Linked DNA regions of Homo sapiens: region 1 is linked to region 2. Evidence: promoter capture Hi-C in 16 types of primary human blood cells and fetal thymus (Javierre and others, 2016). All regions are on one chromosome and are shown on one strand. The core of a region is centred on a gene start or on the middle of the fragment in contact, and the rest is flanking DNA. Distances in the headings are between cores, read along the strand shown. Region 1 holds the start of PIP (prolactin induced protein). Region 2 holds the start of TAS2R60 (taste 2 receptor member 60).

Region 1 (5,156 bases), core at 1,835-4,334, 310 kb before region 2:
TCTGTGAGTTTCCTTTTCTCAACTTTAAACTGTTGCTACATCAATAAATAGACTAGACAAGTGTTTAAGGACATAAACTCTGGTATCAGACTACTTGATTTTGAACCCCTAACTCTGCCAGTTACTAACTTTGCAACTTGTTCTCGCCAGTAGGCAGTGCAGTGGTTAAAGGGTCATGTTCCAGGGCCAGACTGCCAGCGTGGAAATTCTGGCCCCACCCAAAGGTGTATTCGCCATTAAGTTAATGGCATGAAGCCTCAGGGCTTCCTACTTATGGGTGCCTCCTCCAAGATCCTGTACCTGTAGTTTACATTTGTAAGTTTGGATTCTATTTCAAAAAGAGGTTCTCAGATACTGTAAATCAAAACTCAGATTCCACAAAACCTGCTTGCAAAGTTGACTCTGCCATATACTGGCTATATGGTCTGGGTTAGATATTTATCTCCTGGGTCTCTGTTTCTCCTCTTGTAAAATGGAATAAAAATGGCAACCACCTTCACAGGGTTGTAATAAAGATTGAGCTAATATATGTTAAAATGTTTAGAGCAGTGTAATGCACACAGCATATGCTTCATGTGTGTTGGTGTCTATAACTCCCTCTCTGTCCACTCCTTATCTTCTTCTCATGAGCCCTGTCAGGACTAAGATTATCTTTCTCTTTGTAAACTTAGCCTGTGGCAAGCCTCACCTATATTCTAACTCTTTCCCTATGGGACTATACACATTCTCTTCTGTAAGCTTCCTGAGTTGTTTACAATCTGATTTTATCAACCTTTATCTGATTTCTTAAACCTAGACTTGTTCATTCTTTATGGCATAATAATTATGGTTTCTTTTTCTCCCTAATCTTCTTCCTCAAGGGACCTCAAGCTTTTCTCTTAAGACTTTCAACTGATCCAATGAGTCTGACCCATATTATGGAGGTAATCTGTTTTACTCAAATTTTACTGATTTAAATGTTAATCACATTTAAAACAAACAAACAAACAACAACTTCACAGCAACTTCTAAACTGTTGTTTTTCCAAAAAGTGGGCACCATGCCTAGCTAAGCTAACAAATAAAAGTAACCATCACAGCAGTCATGGCCTGAATAAGACTTGTCCTAGGCCAGGCACAGTGGCTCACACCTGTAATCCCAGCAATTTGGGAGGCCGAGGCAGGTGGATCACTTGAGGTCAGGAATGTAAGATCAGCTTGGCCAACATGGTGAAACCCCATCTCTACCAAAAATACAAAAATTAGCCGGGTATGGTGGCACCTGCCTATAATCCCCACTACTCGGGTGGCTGAGGCATGAGAATTTCCTGAACCCGGGAGGTGGAGGCTGCAGTGAGCTGAGATCATGCCACTGCACTCCAGCCTGGATGAGTGAGATTCTGTCTCAAAAAAAAAAGATTGTCCTGTACATTGTAGGTATTGCAGTTTCCTGCTAGCTCACAGAAGAACAGCCTCATTACCTTCAATAGATGCTCTTAACCCATCGTCATCTGCCTTCCTCTGGACACTGCCTTTTGGGAGTGCTGGAGTTGCATCCTCAAGGACAGGGCTATGCCTTCAAAGAGCCAAGCAAAGAACTTTTCCTGCATTTTCCCACACAGACACTTCCTAGATTCTTCTGCCTTATGCCTGCCTTGGTCAGTGTAGCTAGGATGTGCTTCAAATGGAAATTATGCAAGTGAGAAGGACCAGGTGTAAAGACAATTTAATTGTGGGAAAAGGCTTACAAAGGAAGGTCATTGTGACCCTCACAAGCAGTGTTCTTGAGTGGATAGGACATAAACAGGGAAGAAAGCATGTGATCATGAGAACAGCTGAAGTTCTGAGTGAGCAATGACATGAATGGTGTCCAATTCAAAGAAAAGAGAAGGTAGATCCAGGAGCTGAATAAACAGACAGAGCAATTTTGAGAGATACATCCAGAAAGCAGAAGCACACACTTACACTTTAGCTCTGAATCCTGGCTAAAGCAACATACAGAGGCGGTAACTCCTAGAACTCTGATTTTCACTCTGTTGCCAGAGAGGCTCTTCCTGGGCAGCTGTGTGCCATGCAAATGATAGAAACAAATCCCATAGTATTGTAAGTCATAGGTTAAGGAGCAGATTTAATTTCATAAGGAGAAATAACACAATGCCAGTGTCAGCAAGAGCAAGTCTCCCCATCATCCCAAGGAGAGGAATTCTACAACCTGGGTATCTACTGGACATAATGTGGGCTCCATTCTCACAGAAGGAATCCTTTCCACTGTGGTTCTTCCTGTGTGGCTTACGCATGAGACAAGTGTAAGAAAGTGGCCATGTCAATAAGAAAATAAGCCAGCTCTTTGGTGCCAAGAAGTCTGATTTGGGGGTGCCAGCTATTTATAGGAATTGTCTAGAATTAAAATATCACCCTGCCTTGGGGATTGTGGGGCAGCTGGGGATCTTGGACATCTGCAGTATATTGCAACCACACCTGAAATTAAGAAGGACTCAATGACAATAAACATCTTTACATCACCCAGTGTCTTGAACTCACTTCCCCATCATGTAGAGCAGCTCAGGTCTTCTCTAGCTCTTCCACCTCATGATGGGTAGTGACTGCTAGGGAAGTCCTGATCATCCTAGCCCTCCAAGAAATGTTTTGAATAGCATTGCATCTTGAACTCACTATAATTTGATCAAGCAAAGATGTTCTATGTCTCTGGTCTGAAACCTGCCACCACAGCTGTGTTCTCTGCTTTCAGAGACCAGGGGAGCAGTGACTGAAGCTAAGACTACACATAGCACTTCAGACAGGCAAATTAGGAGGGAAAAGAAAACTGAATCTGTAAACTCGGGAAAAACTGGTGTATCTTTTGAGGTCCCAGCCATTTTGAGAAACTCTGATGCTGAAAAAATAAGGAAGAACAATCTGACTCCTCTCTCAAACGCTGACATTCTAGCTGAGTGTTGATTTTTTCTTAGAAAAACAAACTTTGGGTCAACAAGGAAAGATCACGAGTGGGGAGGGTGAATGGGTGATTCACCTCATGGATCTCCCTGGCAGCTCTTGCACTTCCTTGATCAATCTGTATATAAGAAATGTGCTGGGCACCTGGGACACCACTTCTCTGGGACACATTGCCTTCTGTTTTCTCCAGCATGCGCTTGCTCCAGCTCCTGTTCAGGGCCAGCCCTGCCACCCTGCTCCTGGTTCTCTGCCTGCAGTTGGGGGCCAACAAAGCTCAGGACAACACGTGAGCCATGCCCTTCTCCTCCCCACAAAAAAAATTGCAGGGAGGGCTCCTCTCCCAGTCTGGAAATTACATATCTCTTTCTGAGAATTTCTTTCAACTTCCCAGAACTCTAGTCCCAGGAGCTCCCATGGATCTCCTGCCAGGTTCCACTTCTTGTCCTCTTAGGAAGCCCCACCAACTCCTCTCACATTTTTGCTGGGTGTTTCTGCATTGCCAGTGGAAATAAAGCTCCAAATGTACCTACAGGCTGTAATTAGTAGTTAGTCTTCATCTAACATGCTGATCCACATCTTGTTCATAATTTATACCTTTGTTCAGATTTCTGCTCAGTAAACTTTACCTTCTCACACCTTGCCTCCTAGAAGAGAAGCATAACAGGTCTGTGAATTCCAATGGCAGCTTAGGGCAGCTTTGGCAGGACTGGCTAAAGGACCAGAGGCCCTGGCCACTGCCCTGTGGTCTGAGATTGAGCTAGACTGGCAGCTTAGACATTCTTCCTAACCTGAAGTCTGAAGATGAATATGATGACCTCTTGCTCTCACGTATACTGGGACCTGAGAGCACAGGTTCAGAAGTCAACTTATTGAGAACACATGTGTGAAGGAAGCAGAAAAATTGGAGCAAGTAAAATAAAGTAGAAAATGGAGCCAAGGGTCTGGGAGAAAGCAGCGATACCCAATCTAGGGAGTTTTCTCTATAGCAGTAGGGTTTATAATGCTGGGTTTCTGGGTTGTGATCTTGGAGGTACTCTCTATGGCATGGTCAGATATCCTGTCCTGGAGGAAACTGTTCAGGGTTTTGACAAGCTAATGTAATGGAGGCAAGTGTCCCAAGAAACCCTGCATGGGGACAGGTTCAGATCCCACCCCATTCCCGCCAGATGACAGTCCACTTAGCCCTGAAGGGCAGCAAGGTATTCAAATAAGCTATGCTAATTAGGTTATCAACCATCCATCCTGATTTGCCCAGAACTTTCCTGGTTGTAGCACTGCAACTCTGCCCTCCCCCGCCACCTCCACAACCCATTCTGGAAAAGACCTCAGTCCTGGGTAAACTGAGATGGTTAGTCACTCGAACTAAGCTGGTCATCCTATCAATCTGAAACTCATATACAAATGGGAGAGATTTTGAAGTTGCTTAGGTATTTATACCCTTTTCCTGTGCACTGGGCACTACAGCAGTTGGCACCAAAAAATAGAATCTCTCTAAGATGCTTTGCCCCAAGAAAATGGGGCTGTGAGACACTGTGGGCTAAGAATCTCAATTCCCTTCTGTCCCACACAATAACAAAGGTCCGTAGCCGGGAGTTTCTAGGGACGAGAAAATAACTCTCCTGGCCCCGAACCCAGTCCTCATTGACTGAAGAAGAACATTTGACCATTTTATTTGTCTCCATTTCCTTTCCTTTTCAGATTGCAGTGTATGGTCTAAATGTAGAGTAGTATCTAAAGTTCCCAAACATGGCCATATGTCCAAATTTCCTAAGGAGCTAAATAAATACAAATTCCTAAACCCTACCTGGGGACCACAGAAGGAGGATCTTCAAAGATGCTCCTACAAATACCTCCAGTGCATTGAGATGTTTGCTGGGTTTTTAAAATTTTTTATTATTTTATTTTATTTTTCCATAAGTTACTGGGGTACAAGTGGTATTTGGTTACATGAGTAAGTTCTTTAGTGGTGATGAGATTTTGGTGCACCCATCACCCGAGCAGTATACACTGCACCATATTTGTAGTCTTTTAGCCCTCACCCCTCTCCCACTCTTCCCCGCAAGTCCCCAAAGTCCATTGTATCATTCTTATGCTTTTGAGTCCTCAAAGCTTAGCTCCCACATATCAGTGAGAACATACGATGTTTGGTTTTCCATTACTGAGTTACTTCACTTAGAATAATAGTCTCCAATCTCATACAGGTCACTGCAAATGCTGTTAATT
Region 2 (5,483 bases), core at 2,820-5,319:
ATGCAGCAGATATTTATTTCTCACAGTTCTGGAGCCTGAAACTGAGGGTGCCAGCATGGTTGGGTTCTGGTGAGGGCCCTCTTCTGAGTTGCAGACAGATACCTTCTTCTTGTGTCCTCACGTGGCAGAGAGATTTATCTTTCTTGTGTTTCTTCTTATAAGGACACTAATCCCATTCATGAGGGCTTCACCCTTATGAACTAATTACCTCCTGAAAGCGTTATCTCTAAATGTTATCACATTGAGGGTTAAGGTTTCAGTGTATGAATTTTGGGAGGACACAAATATTCAATTCATAGCTGGTGGGTTGCATGTTCATATATATATATTTTACTGATGGAATTCATGATAAAGTATGGAGACCGATAGACTAAAAGAGATTGGGAAAAACACTGCACACAGTTAAGAGAGATTCATATGTTTGAACTAGTCAAAATAGAAGCAGTAAATAACAGGACAGAACAGAGGTTACAAAGAATTTTCAAATAGATAAATGCGTGTAAGGTCAAATGTCCAATAATACCAGGAAGCTGAGGCCCCAAAACATTATGCTACAATGCTAGCTGGAGGCCAGGATATGGCAAGAGAAGAGAGAGGGATGACTAGAGGCAAGATAACAAGATCAGGAATTTTCTCTTGCAAGAGGATGATTAAAGGTTTAAAAGAGGAGATTCTCAAGTTGCTGTTGAGGAACCCAGGGGGATTTCCCCAGGGGGTAGAGCAAGGGTGAGGCAGGATGGAGGAACCTGTGGGGAGCTGGCACTGTGGCCAGGCTTTAAATTAAATAGACACCTAAAGTCTGTGAATTATCCCACCTAGAGAACATGTATTATCCTCATCATCAATCACGAAGAATTTTTCTTTTTCTTTGTAGCAACATGAGTGAGCTAATGACTTCCTACAGGTAGATTAATAATAAATTATGAGACTGAGCCTTGCGGCTCAAGCCACAAGTTGGTTGGAGGCAGGAAAGACAGGAGCATGGCGGGAGCGGGGAGATCTTTCTCCTCTATCCCTTCTACTCAACTGTGAGCACCTGGAAGACTCTTCCCTTGGGCGGAGCTCCAGAAGTTTACTGAAGGTGTTTGGGTGGGGAGTGGGTGGTGATTCAACTCTCATGTTCTGCTCCATCTTCACAGCCCTTCGAGTGATACCAGGTTAAGTGGACTTGTCTCAGGAGTTCCTAATTGATGTTCTCAATCTCCTTTTTAAAACTCTAGCTCATAAAAGCCCCAAAACACTTGGTGGCTCTGTCTTGACTAAAGATACAATCTAATATCTCATCAAGGCTTCCAAAATTTTCTGTGATCTCTCTCCAGCCTACCTTTTTGGCTTGATATGCCATCTTCTCTATGTAAGTCCTCTGTTGTAGCTAAATGTATCTAATTGTTCTGGATATAATCATGTATCCCCCTCCTTTACTGATGCCTCATCTTTTTCCTTCCAACATGCAAGACAGCATCTTTATTGTCTCACAATTATGGGGCTGTTACTTCTCAACTCTTCTGAGAGATCTTGGGATGGGAATAGCAAGATCCCTAACACATAGAGCCACAGACTGGGAGTCACTTGTTGAGAGTACTGAGTTGAAGGTTTTCCATATAGAGAGCTAACTCAGGATCCCTATCCTACTACCCTCATGATTACATTTATAAAGACTGGTTATGAAAAGTTAAAAACTCTCAGACTTGACTTTTACCTAAGAAGATAAATCTAGACATGAGAAAGCCAAATGCAACAAACAAACAAACAAACAACAAACAACAAAAGAATCACCACGAAACACATTGCATATTTAAATTCAAATGATTATTCCCTCTTTTGGATTAACTTACTCTGCACATAGTATATGTCCAGTAAATGTTTGTGGTTTATGTTTAGCCCATAAAAGTGCTTTGAAGGCAGATATCTAATTCACTGTTGTAGCCCAATGTCTTTCAAAGGGTTATCATGGCATATAGGATATGCTTAATAAATTATTATTAAATGAATTGAAGGTTAAATGCACATCTTTATCATTGAAGGTGTGGGAGGTGGATGAAAAAGATTCAAGTTTTCCATATTGGGCGGTTTGTAGGTGGCCATACTCCAGAGCTATAAGCCCGAAGTTTGCCCCATTTCTCCAAGTTCCAGTAGAAAACAGCCAAATGTCAGCCAGAAGAACAAGGGCAAGGAAGAGAGCAGTTGGGAACTCTATCTCCTGGAAATTTGCATCTTCACAGAAAGGCAGAGTGAATTACCTTAGTTCATCTTATTTCCTTTACTCCGAAGACCTATGTCCACTATGGTTGGCGTATGTGTTAAAGAAACAATTCCACCTGGAAGTGGACTACTGGGAAGTAGACTGGGAACTGGGAAGAGATGCTGACATGCGTTCTATTCCCTTTTTGTGGGGGTCCTATATATGGAACTGGTAGGTTGTGGTGTCAGCAGATGTGTATTCATTACAAATCCCCTTACTGTCATGTTACTTGATCCTGAGCCTTCAATATTGCTGTATTTGACCCAGAACAATTCCTGCTTTCCTATCTCCCTGTGACACGTTAACCTACTTACACTCACCTGGGTGTTGATTGCTGATTTTTTTGACTCTTTGAAGCTGATTTCTATAAAGAATGTGGTCTTTTTTTTACTCTGTCCTTCTCTGGTTGATATCAGTGGTCTGACATTTGGTGCCCTGAACTTCTGTTGCATCCCTGATGCTCTCCTGAATTCTCCTTATGCTACTTATTATGCCACAGGATGGATGGAATAGAAGATAGCCATTCTAATAAAGTAATTGTCATCATCATCATTGCTCCTTGTCCATATGCAGAGGTTTATAATTTCCAATATATTTACCATATTTATGGTCATATTTATTTGTGACCCATATTTTTTATAGGTGAAGAAAGGGGGGTGTTCAGAGAGGTTAACTGCTTGAGGATCCGTAGTGATTGTGACAAGACTCAAAACTTGGGCTTCTGAGTTCAGCTAGGGATGAAGAAGATGGAGGTGTAACATGTATTGCTAACCATGGCAGAGATTCCTGGTCCTGGAATCAGTTTGGATCTTGGTCTTTCCTCTGTGTAACTGTGACTTTAGGTGGGAGTTGTAATATATAATTTGGGGTCTTATTTCTTTTATCTGTAAGATTATCTTTCATGTCTTCTTTCATTCTAAGCCGAGATTCTAAGACATCTTTGTGAATTAGAACATAGGATACTTTTCATATTTTACAGATGGACAAAATGAGGCGCAGAGGGGCTGACATATCCAGCAACTCACAGTAAGGGGTAAAGTTTGGACTAAAGGCTGTCTCGACTCCTAGCACAGGGCTCATTCTGCCATATCCCATTGGCTTATCGCTACTGGGGGTTCCTCTGTGAAGTGCTATTTTAGAGGCCACCAGTTATCAAATATATATTTTTAAATTTTGAAAAAAGTTGCCTGCCTCATTATGTATAATTGTCTCCAGTGTTCTTTTTTTATGATGATGGTCACTGTGAGTAATAAGACTTGAATTAATCCTTCTCTGTAAAGGTTTGCTCAGTTTTCTCTCTGTCTCAGTTAAAGGGGTCTTGCCATACTACTCCCCGCATAGAGTTGTTGTGAGAACTAAGGAGAGCACTCAGAACAATGCCTGCAACATAACAATCACCCCCCCCCCGTGGATGTGAGCGCTGTCTCAGTAGCGGGTGTGCCCCACGGATGATACTACTGAGCTGGCAGGTGCATGGTCCTGTCATAGGTGTCCGCTTAGAGAAGTATAACCTCCTGTGTAAGGACACTAAATGCCAGGGCCTGATATATTATCCACTTTGATGTTGACATGGGCAGAGAATAGGCAGAAGAGCAGGCAAATTTTTGGGCAGGTATGGGGACTTTGAAAATTGAGCCTTGACAATATTTGCATCTACTCTGAGAAGAAAAAACCTCTCACCCTCCTCTGATAGCCTGCGTCCTCTACTCTGGCCTAGCTTCTGCGCTTGGGGCAGCTGGAGGGACAAACATATCCTACAGGACCTTCCAGAGCAACCCAACAGAGATAGCCCTTGAAGTTTTGGGACCCATCTTGTCCACCAGAGAGATGAATGGAGACCACATGGTTCTAGGATCTTCGGTGACTGACAAGAAGGCCATCATCTTGGTTACCATTTTACTCCTTTTACGCCTGGTAGCAATAGCAGGCAATGGCTTCATCACTGCTGCTCTGGGCGTGGAGTGGGTGCTACGGAGAATGTTGTTGCCTTGTGATAAGTTATTGGTTAGCCTAGGGGCCTCTCGCTTCTGTCTGCAGTCAGTGGTAATGGGTAAGACCATTTATGTTTTCTTGCATCCGATGGCCTTCCCATACAACCCTGTACTGCAGTTTCTAGCTTTCCAGTGGGACTTCCTGAATGCTGCCACCTTATGGTCCTCTACCTGGCTCAGTGTCTTCTATTGTGTGAAAATTGCTACCTTCACCCACCCTGTCTTCTTCTGGCTAAAGCACAAGTTGTCTGGGTGGCTACCATGGATGCTCTTCAGCTCTGTAGGGCTCTCCAGCTTCACCACCATTCTATTTTTCATAGGCAACCACAGAATGTATCAGAACTATTTAAGGAACCATCTACAACCTTGGAATGTCACTGGCGATAGCATACGGAGCTACTGTGAGAAATTCTATCTCTTCCCTCTAAAAATGATTACTTGGACAATGCCCACTGCTGTCTTTTTCATTTGCATGATTTTGCTCATCACATCTCTGGGAAGACACAGGAAGAAGGCTCTCCTTACAACCTCAGGATTCCGAGAGCCCAGTGTGCAGGCACACATAAAGGCTCTGCTGGCTCTCCTCTCTTTTGCCATGCTCTTCATCTCATATTTCCTGTCACTGGTGTTCAGTGCTGCAGGTATTTTTCCACCTCTGGACTTTAAATTCTGGGTGTGGGAGTCAGTGATTTATCTGTGTGCAGCAGTTCACCCCATCATTCTGCTCTTCAGCAACTGCAGGCTGAGAGCTGTGCTGAAGAGTCGTCGTTCCTCAAGGTGTGGGACACCTTGAGCCACAGCTGATGAAAAACTTCAAGGAGATTCTTGTGGAGAAGGCATGGACTCAAAGGGACATAGCTTCTCTCTTTGCCACATTGAATGTTTTCTCTCTGTTGCTACAGTTAATGATTAGAAAAATAACTTCAATGAAATAGGATACAAGGTGAGAGTAAAGGTCCTGAAATATGGGCTAGTGTCATGTTATGTACTCACCAAGTGCATAGTTCATGTGGCCATGGTTCCTGTGGGACCTGATGTGGTCAAAGAATCCAGAAGCCTTTATTTTTCCTGTGATCGATCTCTTCGTATTTAAAATAATCATTCTGGGAACTGGATGCAAAGATCCTCAAACTTCATGCAATATTTTATCTGTTCAATCGAACTGGGGCATGTTTTTGGAACTGCAGTTTTCTCAGGCTTTGTCCTGTGAACCACCTTTCCCTTCTCATCAATTCAAAGTTTTCTGGCCA

The links. The method cuts DNA at HindIII sites, captures the fragments that hold promoters and counts their contacts. A CHiCAGO score of 5 or more calls a contact.
Region 1: the fragment with the promoter of PIP here is called in contact with the fragment with the promoter of TAS2R60 in region 2 in 10 of 17 cell types (neutrophils, naive CD8 T cells, total CD4 T cells and 7 more); the score reaches 18.1 in neutrophils.

The regions. Positions count from the first base shown.
Region 1 is chr7:143,128,993-143,134,148 of GRCh38, forward strand. It overlaps PIP (prolactin induced protein), which reads left to right and starts at 3,085. Exons shown (of 4, transcript NM_002652.3): 1 at 3,085-3,219. The coding sequence starts at 3,125. The HindIII fragment of the contact is 4,172 bases long and covers 869-5,040 here.
Region 2 is chr7:143,439,384-143,444,866 of GRCh38, forward strand. It overlaps TAS2R60 (taste 2 receptor member 60), which reads left to right and starts at 4,070. Exons shown (of 1, transcript NM_177437.1): 1 at 4,070-5,026. The coding sequence starts at 4,070. The coding sequence ends at 5,026. All of the region lies in intron 2 of EPHA1-AS1 (EPHA1 antisense RNA 1), which reads left to right. The HindIII fragment of the contact is 8,585 bases long and covers 1-5,483 here.